2 separate regions of the Homo sapiens genome follow, and region 2 is linked to region 1. Evidence: promoter capture Hi-C in 16 types of primary human blood cells and fetal thymus (Javierre and others, 2016). All regions are on one chromosome and are shown on one strand. Each heading gives the region's core, a stretch centred on a gene start or on the middle of the fragment in contact. The rest is flanking DNA. Distances are from core to core; before and after follow the strand shown. Region 1 holds the start of FLG2 (filaggrin 2). Region 2 has its middle 23 kb from the start of TCHHL1.

Evidence for each region. The method cuts DNA at HindIII sites, captures the fragments that hold promoters and counts their contacts. A CHiCAGO score of 5 or more calls a contact.
Region 2: a contact is called between a fragment that was not itself captured here and the fragment with the promoter of FLG2 in region 1, in 4 of 17 cell types (total CD4 T cells, naive CD8 T cells, neutrophils and 1 more). The highest score is 6.2, in total CD4 T cells.

The regions. Positions count from the first base shown.
Region 1 is chr1:152,356,682-152,361,799 of GRCh38, reverse strand. FLG2 (filaggrin 2) reads left to right here and starts at 1,794. Exons shown (of 3, transcript NM_001014342.3): 1 at 1,794-1,844; 2 at 2,894-3,053; 3 at 4,153-5,118. The coding sequence starts at 2,916. All of the region lies in intron 7 of CCDST (cervical cancer associated DHX9 suppressive transcript), which reads right to left. The HindIII fragment of the contact is 5,522 bases long and covers 1-4,302 here.
Region 2 is chr1:152,063,280-152,068,488 of GRCh38, reverse strand. No RefSeq gene overlaps it. Among named protein-coding and RNA genes, the nearest start is that of TCHHL1, 23 kb to the left of the region's middle. The HindIII fragment of the contact is 3,722 bases long and covers 124-3,845 here.

The DNA.
Region 1 (5,118 bases), core at 545-3,044:
AACAAAAATGCACTTCCAAAAGATGCATATGATTGAAAATGACCATAGTATCCAACAGCAACCATAACTTTCTGTGTGGTTGTTTTGGTCTAGGATTCCTTGGCTATGTGAGCAATTGACATATTTCAAGGGCCTATTCATTAACATTTTATGAACAGACACTCATTCTTAGTGTTTACCAAGCTCTAGGTGCTGCCTAGATGGTGGAATGAATAAGATATGATGACTGGCCCAAAGCAATGCCCAGATAGGAGTTTATTGACTCCATATATGTAGAATATATATGGTTAAGTGCTAGGCTTTAGCATCGGCTAGCATGTGTATCTGTTCTAGTGCTGCTACTAACTAGCTGCGATTTGTAACAAATGTTTACATTGCTCTATGCTTTTATTACCTTATCTATAAAATGGGGTTATTTTGAGGAATAAATAGATAAGCATGTAAACCTACCATGTATAGAAGATAGTAAGCACTTAGCACTTAATGGTAGCTGCTATCCTCCTCATCATCATCATTATCACCTGGTAGCAAAGTACAGCAGAATTGGCTCTCCATGCTTAAGACTTACAGCTCTCTGATTATTTTTGTTACCCTCAAGTGTATTTGATATACTTTCTGTACATAAGTGAACATTTTCCCAAGGGTCCAGGCCCTAAACATGCCAGACTACCAGTGGATCGCAGAGTGCTGGAAGAAAGCTCACTCTAAATTCACCCTGAACATATCTGAAAACATTATTTTTATATATAGCCAATTACACTTTTCTAGCCTAGAAATGAGCCTTCACAAGGTCAGAGAATGTTTCCTCTCTTCCTAACAGCACTCTGTATGTTACTTTTTTATATTATTTGCGTTTGAGTGGGCCTTACACTCCTAAAATGGTGCATAATTTTTGCATGATAGTTATATATGATAAATACACAGAGGTAAGTTAGTATAATGGTAAACAGCAATTGCAATAAGGTAGATACAGGTTCAACTTCTGGTTTCTCTGCCTACTAGCTATGACCTTGGAGAAGATCCTTATGCTTCCAGAACCTGTCTCTATAAAATGGGATAATAAATACATATCTCGTATGAAGGTTGTGAAGATTAAATGAGGTGATAAGATCTAGTATTTGGTAACATAATATGGTAACTATAGTTAACTATTTATTGTATATTTTTAAATAACTAAAATAGTAGAATTAGAATGTTCCTACTACAAAGAAATGCTTGAGGTGCTGGATACCCCAATTACTGTAATTTGATCATTACACATGGTATGCCCATATCAAAACATCACATGTACCCAACAATTATATACAACTATGTACCCATAACTAAAAGTGCAGATTTTTTAAAGATTGAGATGGTTTGTTTAAAGTATTTAGCACATAGTAAATTCTCAATAAATGTCACTTTTTATTATTACAAAAAAGACATGAATTAGATGAACCTAGTGGCTCAGGTTCATTTTCAATTAAATAAGCATTTATTGTGCACCTTCCAAGTATCTTACACTCTGCTACTTTCTGTGGGTACTAGTTAAAAGAAATGTATAACATGAGTCCTCTAAAACAAAGTCTGTGCTTTTCACATGTATATGACCCTGAAAAAAAAGGTATCTTGCAACCATGTCCTCGTACTGGAAGGTGGGGCTGGTACTAGCCTTTCTGCAATCATCTGTAGATAACAATGTGAAGGAGGAAGGTAAATATGTAGAGGTGGAGTTAGGTTTGATGGAAAATGAATCACCTCATTCACTATAATCACTATAAGCTATATAAGGGTCATTATCCCAATCCATCGTCACCCTGCAAGCTGCATCAGGCTTTATCCTACTTGTTCCTTTGGTGAACCAGGTGAGAGAAAATTCATCCAGCTACATTTATGAATATTTGGTGTTGTCCATAGTAGAAGTCTAGGGATATAAGCTAAGGCAGAGTTCATGTATATTTTGCCTTTCTTTTCTTTTTTGTTTCTTTCTTTCATTTTCTTTTCTTTTTGTTTGCTTATTTGTTTGGTTAGTTTAGTTTATTCTGGGGCCTTTTTGTAGTTAAGTTCATTTTTATGGAGAAGAATAATGCAAGTAAAAGTTCACCTTCCTCTAGGCCATTCCACAGTCTGTTCCGAGTCTTTTTCCATGCCCTCTTTTCTGGGCTGTCCAGCTCAAACTGGGAGGCAGCTGGGTCTGTTGCAGAGTCCCTTCCTTATTCAGTGTTGGTTCCCAGAGCTCCAAGATCTAATTATCCACTAGTTAAACTGCTGCCTGCATTGCTGAGCTCTTCTTCTTGATTAATTAAAGAAAACAGTGTTTGGTCAAGTGCTTGACATTAAGAGAGTTCCTAAGCTCTACTGAGTTCTACTGTCTCATGCCTATGAAACACCAAGCTATTTTGAGCCCCTTTGCCCATTTTTAATTTGCTGAAGGCCTTAAGGGTCCAGTTTAGCTTCTGGTGCCCAGAGGATAAACAGATGTGCATGGTGGAAGGTCTGTCACTTTTGACTCAAGAAAAGCAGTGAAACTAGAAAGAGAGATTGAGGCAATGGTGTCTGGCTGGTTCTGGAAATTTTGGAAGCCTTAGAACAACACCCAGAATGCCAACACACTCAAAGTGTAGAGATACTATGTAGAGACTATACTTACCCATGACAGGAAATATAGAGACTTGAGGTCTATTCTCAGTTGAACCAGTAACATGCCAAGACTTGATCACAGAAAAGTAACTCAAAGTTAACAAAGTTAATTTTCATTGTGTTAAACGGGGTTGTATCATCCCTGGCCCATTCTTACGTTTTGAGATTTAAAAAACAAGAGGTTAAAAAAATCATGCTGGTTATTATTAAAATGAAAATTGCTGATAAAAGGAGAGAATATGAATAATAGGGTTCTTTGTTTTTCTGTGTCCAGGTTCACTTAAACTTGCAAAAAGATGACCGACCTCTTGAGAAGTGTTGTCACCGTAATTGATGTTTTCTACAAATACACCAAGCAAGATGGGGAGTGTGGCACACTGAGCAAGGGTGAACTAAAGGAACTTCTGGAGAAAGAGCTTCATCCAGTTCTGAAGGTGAGAGCCATGTGCCAGAACTGAAGGCTGCTGGAGTCCTGTACAAGCTCTGTTGTATGACCCAGATCAGCTAAAAAGTGCACAGCCCCAGTGAACTCTAAGCAAACTCTATGAGTGGTATTTTGGGGATGCCAGAAAGTCTGTTAAAGCAGCAGATATTTTAAAGAAAGTGAATGTTTCGTCCTCACTTTTCCACCTATGCACTCCTACCTCATAGACTCTCAGACTTTCTCATACACCCAGGCTTTTCCTTAGAAAAAGCAGAAAATAAAATTATACTAGGACACGAATTAATAAATTATCCTATCAAATGGAAAAAAAAGTATAGAAAGGGAAATCATCTACATAGGGAGTTGACAAAATAGCCATGATTAAGAATCAAAAATAAAATGCCAGCATTTTATTCCATCTACTTAAAAAGGACTCAGCTAGGCGCGGTGGCTCATGCCTGTAATCCCAGCACTTTGGGAGGCCGAAGTGGGTGAATCACAAGGTAAGGAGATCAAGACCATCCTGGCTAATACGGTGAAACCCCATCTCTACTAAAAATACAAAAAATTAGCCGGGCGTGGTTGCATGCCCCTGTAGTCCCAGCTACTCGGGAGGCTGAGGCAGGAGAATGGCGTGAACCTGGGAGGCAGAGCTTGCAGTGAGCAGAGATCGCACCACTGCACTCCAGCCTGGGCTACAGAGCAAGACTCCATCTCAAAAAAAAAAAAAAGACTCAGTTATTAACTTCAAAATAATAGATGATAAATTCCAACATGGAAGATATTAACATGTAATAGTTACAATTTATGTAAAACTTAGAAATACCAGTTACTGAACTTAGTTTATTCCACTCCTTCCTGTAGGCCTTACCTAAGCACTTAATCCTTTAGCCTAAATCCTTGAAATGTCTTCTTCTGAGGATCCCAGTAGTCTTTATTTTCTATTAACCCTTAACATTTACTGGGTTCTATTAACCTAAAGTAATCCTTTATTGGACTAAAACTACATCATGTCAAACATCCATAATTTCACAGCGCTATTTAAATGTGTTAGTTGAGTATGCAGGTTAGGCTGACCAGGTCTCCCTTGGTGTGTCACTCATATACAGAACCCAGATGATCCAGACACAGTGGATGTCATCATGCATATGCTGGATCGAGATCATGACAGAAGATTGGACTTTACTGAGTTTCTTTTGATGATATTCAAGCTGACTATGGCCTGCAACAAGGTCCTCAGCAAAGAATACTGCAAAGCTTCAGGGTCAAAGAAGCATAGGCGTGGTCACCGACACCAAGAAGAAGAAAGTGAAACAGAAGAGGATGAAGAGGATACACCAGGACATAAATCAGGTTACAGACATTCAAGTTGGAGTGAGGGAGAGGAGCATGGATATAGTTCTGGGCACTCAAGGGGAACTGTGAAATGTAGACATGGGTCCAACTCCAGGAGGCTAGGAAGACAAGGTAATTTATCCAGCTCTGGGAACCAAGAGGGATCTCAGAAAAGATACCACAGGTCCAGCTGTGGTCATTCATGGAGTGGTGGCAAAGACAGACATGGTTCCAGCTCTGTAGAACTGAGAGAAAGAATAAACAAGTCACACATTAGCCCTTCTAGGGAATCTGGGGAGGAGTATGAATCTGGATCTGGATCAAACAGTTGGGAAAGGAAAGGTCATGGTGGTCTGTCATGTGGATTGGAGACTAGTGGGCATGAATCAAACTCTACTCAGTCAAGAATTAGAGAACAAAAGCTTGGGTCTAGCTGTTCAGGTTCAGGAGACAGTGGGAGGCGAAGTCATGCATGTGGTTATAGCAATTCAAGTGGGTGTGGAAGGCCACAAAATGCTTCAAGTTCTTGTCAGTCACATAGATTTGGAGGGCAAGGAAATCAATTTAGCTATATTCAGTCAGGCTGTCAGTCAGGAATTAAGGGAGGACAAGGCCATGGCTGTGTCTCAGGAGGTCAGCCCTCTGGATGTGGTCAACCTGAGTCTAACCCCTGTAGTCAGTCCTATAGTCAGAGAGGATATGGAGCTAGAGAAAATGGTCAACCACAGAACTGTGGAGGA
Region 2 (5,209 bases), core at 735-3,234, 290 kb after region 1:
AGTACTGCTCTATAATCTTCAAGAATGGCATCATCTAAGAAGAGCTCCTGTCTTAGTCCCCAGCCACCGCTACGTGTAAATTATCAGACTGTACTGAGATAACTGCATCTCCTCCTCCAAGCTTTGAATTCCTTGAGGAAAGGAGCTATTTCTTATTCATCTCCCATTCCCAGAACACAACACAGCATTGGCACAAAGGAAATTAAGAAATGCTTGCTAAGTCAGTTAATTCATTATTATTGCCATTGCAAAACTTTCTAGCTGCAAAGGATCTCAGAGGTCAGGTGGCCAGTAGTTCTTGCGGCTGCAAAGGAATCAGTGGGGAGCTTTTTAAATGCAGAGTCTAGGACTCTACCCCAGAGCTATTGAGCCACTCTCTCTGGAGGTGGGGCCTGGAGTCTTTATTTCTTTAAAGCTCCTCCTGGTGACTCTATAGTACAGCAAAGTTTGGGAACCACAGACCTATTCCAACATATCACTCAAATCAGGGTTCACTCATTTGTTTCTGCACCCATTCATCAGGCATTTATTGAACTTCTACTATATTTGAGGCACTAGGATAAATAAAAAATAGATAAGACATGGTCCTGGCCCTCAAAGAAAAATCTCTAAAGGAGTCAGATAAACAATCAAATAAGCCGGATCTTTACACTGTAATTTACCTCCAAGAGATGAAGAAAGAAGGGATGATAGAGATTCAGAAAAATTAAACAAGTTGGGTATTCCTTGGTGCATTCCAGGTGCACTCCAGTTGGCAAAACAAGATGCTTCCCTATCTTCTGAGGAGCAGCATCAGTATCATCGACATTTTCCACAAGCACGCAGAGTGATGGAGACTGGCAGAGGCTGAACAAGACAAAACTCAAGACACTTCTCAGACAAGAGTTTGGAATGGCCTTGGAGGTAAGAAGGACAGGGGCTCACTCCTTGCACATTTACTGTGTTACTTGGAACTGTCTTCTTGGCTCCAGTGACACTACCCTCTCCTAGGTTTCCTCTTATGTCTCCAGCTGTTTCCTCTCAGAGTCATTTCAAGTTCCTCTTCCTCTGCTCATCACTTAAGGGTTGATATGCTCTGGAATTCTCTTCTCACTTTATGCATGTCTCCTGGGGATTTCATAGACTCTGCTTGCCTCAACCACTGTATGCTGAAACCACTCTCTGTATGCTGAAACTTTCAGTCAACTTATCAACCAGATCACTTTCCTGAGCTTCAGACCCATGGAGCATCTCCATCAGATATGGCACAAGCATTTCAAATTCAACCTGTACAAACCTCATCTTCCTTTTACATCCTATATTCAAACAAATACAGCAGCACTAGCCATTCATTTGTCCAAGTCAATAACTTGGGTGCTAGCCTTGACACCTCCATCTATTTTACTTCTCACATCTAATCTCATCACCAAGCCCTCCTGATTCTGACTTCTAAATAAATATCTCTCAGACCTGGCCACTTCTCTCCTCAACCACTGCCCCTGAAGTGTTCTAGGCCACCAGTATCTCTGACTTGAATTGTTGCAATAACCTCCTAATTGGTCTCTTCCCCTCTATTCTTGTCCCTCCCTATCAATACTATCCACCATCTATTACCTACATGCAGCCAAAGTGACCCTATTTAGCTATTTGTCATATAGGCTCCCATTTCACCCCTGTGGCACTTATTACAGTGTGTTATAATTACCTGTTTACTTGTCTATGAAGGCAGAGACCATGTCCTTTTGTGCTTTTATTTGTTTCTCTAGCCTGGGATCATTCCTGTCATATATCTATTAATTCATTTATGCAACTGATATTTACTTAGCATCACATATGTTCCAGGTAACTTTGTAGGCTCTGGGAAGAGTAGCCAGCAAAATAGACATGGTTCCTGCCTTCAAAAAACTTATAGACAATAAACCAAGTAAACATAACAATATATAGTTAAAAACAATATGGCCAGGCATGGTGGCTCATGCCTGTAATCCTAGCACTTTGGGAGGCCAAAGCGGGTGGATCACTTGAGGTCAGGATTTGGAGACCAGCCTGGCCAACATGGTGAAACCCCATCTCTACTAAAAATACAAAAATCTTAGCGAGGCATGGTGGTGGACGCCTGTAGTCCCAGCTACTCGGGAGGCTGAGGCAGGAGAATGGCATGAACCCAGGAGGCGGAGCTTGCAGTGAGCCGAGATCATGCCACTGCACTCCAGCCTGGGTGACAGAGCGAGACTCCATCTCAAAAAAAAAAAAAAAAAAAACCAGCCAGGAGTGGTGACACGTACCTATAGTCCCAGTTACTCTGGAGGCCAACGTAGGAGAATCACTTGAACCCGGGAGATGGAGGTTGCAGTGAGCAAGATCACGTCACTGCATTGCAGCCTGGGCAACAGAGCGAGACTCCATCTGAAAAAAATAAAAACAAAAAAAACAAACAAAACCAATAATAAGAGTTATGTTCTGCTAGGAAGTCAGAGGAGATTCTTTAAGGAAATTACATTTAAGTCAAGACTTGAAGGACGTGTAGGAGTTGACTAGATGAAGAATAGGAAGTGTTCCAGGAAAAAAAAAAAAAGGAGTACTAATAAAGTCCTTGAGTAAGGAAATAGCTTTTGTGCTCAAGGAACTGGAAGTTCGGTGTGGCTGGGCAGAAAGAATGGCAGGAGATGAAAGTGGAGAGCCAGGCAGGGACTAAATCATGCGGAGCTTTTTCAACCATGTTAAGTAATTTATATATGTAATAGGAAGGCATTAAAGAGTTCTGAGCAGAGGAATAATTAAATCTAAATCACAAATTTTTAAATTCACTTGGTGTTTGGATGGGCAAATTTTTAAATTCACTTGCTGTTTGGATGGGCAAAAGAAGAAGCAAAGAAACCACTTAGAACACTACACACTACTGCAGAGCCAGGCATGGTGGCTTGCACCTGTAATTCCAGCTACTTGGGAAGTTGGGGCAGAAGGATCGCTTGAGCCCAGGAGTTTGAGGCTATAGTGAGCTATGATCATGCCACTGCACTCCAGTCTGGGTGACAGAGTAAGACCCTGACTCAAAAAAAAAAAAAAAAAAAGGGCTACTGCAACAGTATTGGCAAAAGATGATGGTAGCTTGGATTGAGGAAGTCCAAACAATGGAGAAGGAAAGAAGTGGATGGATTGACAGTACATTTTGGAGATAGAAACAAAAGGCTTTATTATGGACTGGACTGTAGGGGTAAATGAGAGGAAAGAATCAAATACAGCTACCATGCTTCTGGCTTGAGAAACTGGAAGGACGGTGGTGCCATTTACTGAGATGGAGTGGACTTGATGAGAAATAGACATAAGAAGAAAATCAAGAGTTGGACATGTTGAATTTCTTCTACCTGTGATATATCACAGAAAAGATGTCACCAAAGCAGTTAGACATACATGTCTGGAACTCAGAAGAGAGATCTGGCTTGCACAAAGACAAAAATCTGATTATCATCAGCTAATTGATGGTATGAAGCTACGGGAATAGATGAGAATGTAAAAACATAGGATAGGAAGAGTGTCCTATACTAAATCCTGAGTAACTCCAACATTTAGAGGCTAAGTAGAAAAGGTGAAACGAGGATAGAAAATGAAAACATGGGGCCAAAGATATAGAATGAAAACCAGGAGAGTGGGATGTCATGAAATACAAGATAAGAAAATGTTTCGAAAGGAAGGATTAGTCAGTTGTGTCAACTGAGGTCCAGTAAAGAAAAGATTGTGTCCACTGTATTTGGTACCAAGGAAACCACTTGGTGTGGTGGTGAATATGGATGCCAAAATGACACATATTAAGGGAGAATGAAGAGTAAGGAAGCGGAGACATTTACAGATAACTCTTTCAAGAAGCTTGGCAATAAATGGTGAGAAGAGATATTGGCTGGTAGAAAGAAAGAGATGTGAGATGTGAGAATGTGGTGCACAGGACTTTTTTTTTTTTTTTTTTTTTGAGATGGAGTCTTGCTCTGTCACCCAGGCTGGAGTGTAGTGGCATGATCTCCGTTCACTGCAACTTCTGCCTCCCGGGTTCAAGAGATTCTCCTGCATCAGCCTGCTGAGTAGCTGGGATTACAGGCACCTGCCACCACGCCTGGCTAATTTTTTAATTTTTAGGAGATATGAGGTTTCACCATGTTGGCCAGGCTGGTCTTGAACTCCTGACCTCAGGTGATCCACCTGCCTCCACAGCCTCCCAAAGTGCTAGGATTACAGGCATGAACCACTGTGCCCAGACCACAGGAAATTTTTTAAAGTATGATAGCTAATAAAGCATACTGTTTCTCTGTCTGGAATGATCCAGTAGAGACTAAAGCATCAAAAAGTCAAGAGAAAGAGAAATTATCAGAAGTAACTCAGTCTTTTATAAAGTAAAGGGCATGAACTCGAGGGCACAAACAGATGGATTTGCTTTGGATAGAAAGAGAAAAACTTCCTCTACTGTCTCAGGAAAGAGTACACATTAAAGAAAGTTTGTTCCTTTGCTTGGATAAATGAGAGAGTTCCAGTTTGGTGACTTGGATTTCATTATAAAGCAGAGTCATCATTGAGAGTTGGGGGAAAACAGGGTGTGTTAGTGGTTAATAAATATGTAATAAAATAATGCTATATTTTATTAATACTAGGAATATACATTTCAGTTACTGTGATCTCAAAATATAAAAATATACATAATACTGCCATAGAAAATAATATGCAGTGAAATAGCTATAAATAGAACTAGAAAACAGACCTCTTAAATGTCCCCTAAGGAATTTTCTTGGTAACAAAACATAAGAGAAGGAAAAAAATAACAAATGATTAATAAACTACTTTCTTGATTTTTTTCTCATAGAAAACAACTAATTCTGAGACAATAGAAAAATCCTCCAACAGCTGGATCAAGATGGTCACAAAACAGTTGATTTCAGTGAATTCATTTTGCTGGTGCTTACAGTGACAAAAGCCTATCATGCATGCATAAAAGCTCTTCTCTGTCCTGAATTAAAGGAAATGGAGAGAAGATCCGAAATGCAAGGACGACAAGCAAAAGGACTCAAAGGCAGGCAACCAGACAAAGAAAAAACGTCAGCAGACAGATCAGAGCCGAGAGTCCCAGGATATTTGGAGACATAAAGTGAGAGACCAAATCCCAACACCCAGTGATGATGAGAGTCATGGAGTTAAAGCTCATAACCAAGAATCACAGCATATTAGAAGACACCAAGTGAGAGACTTG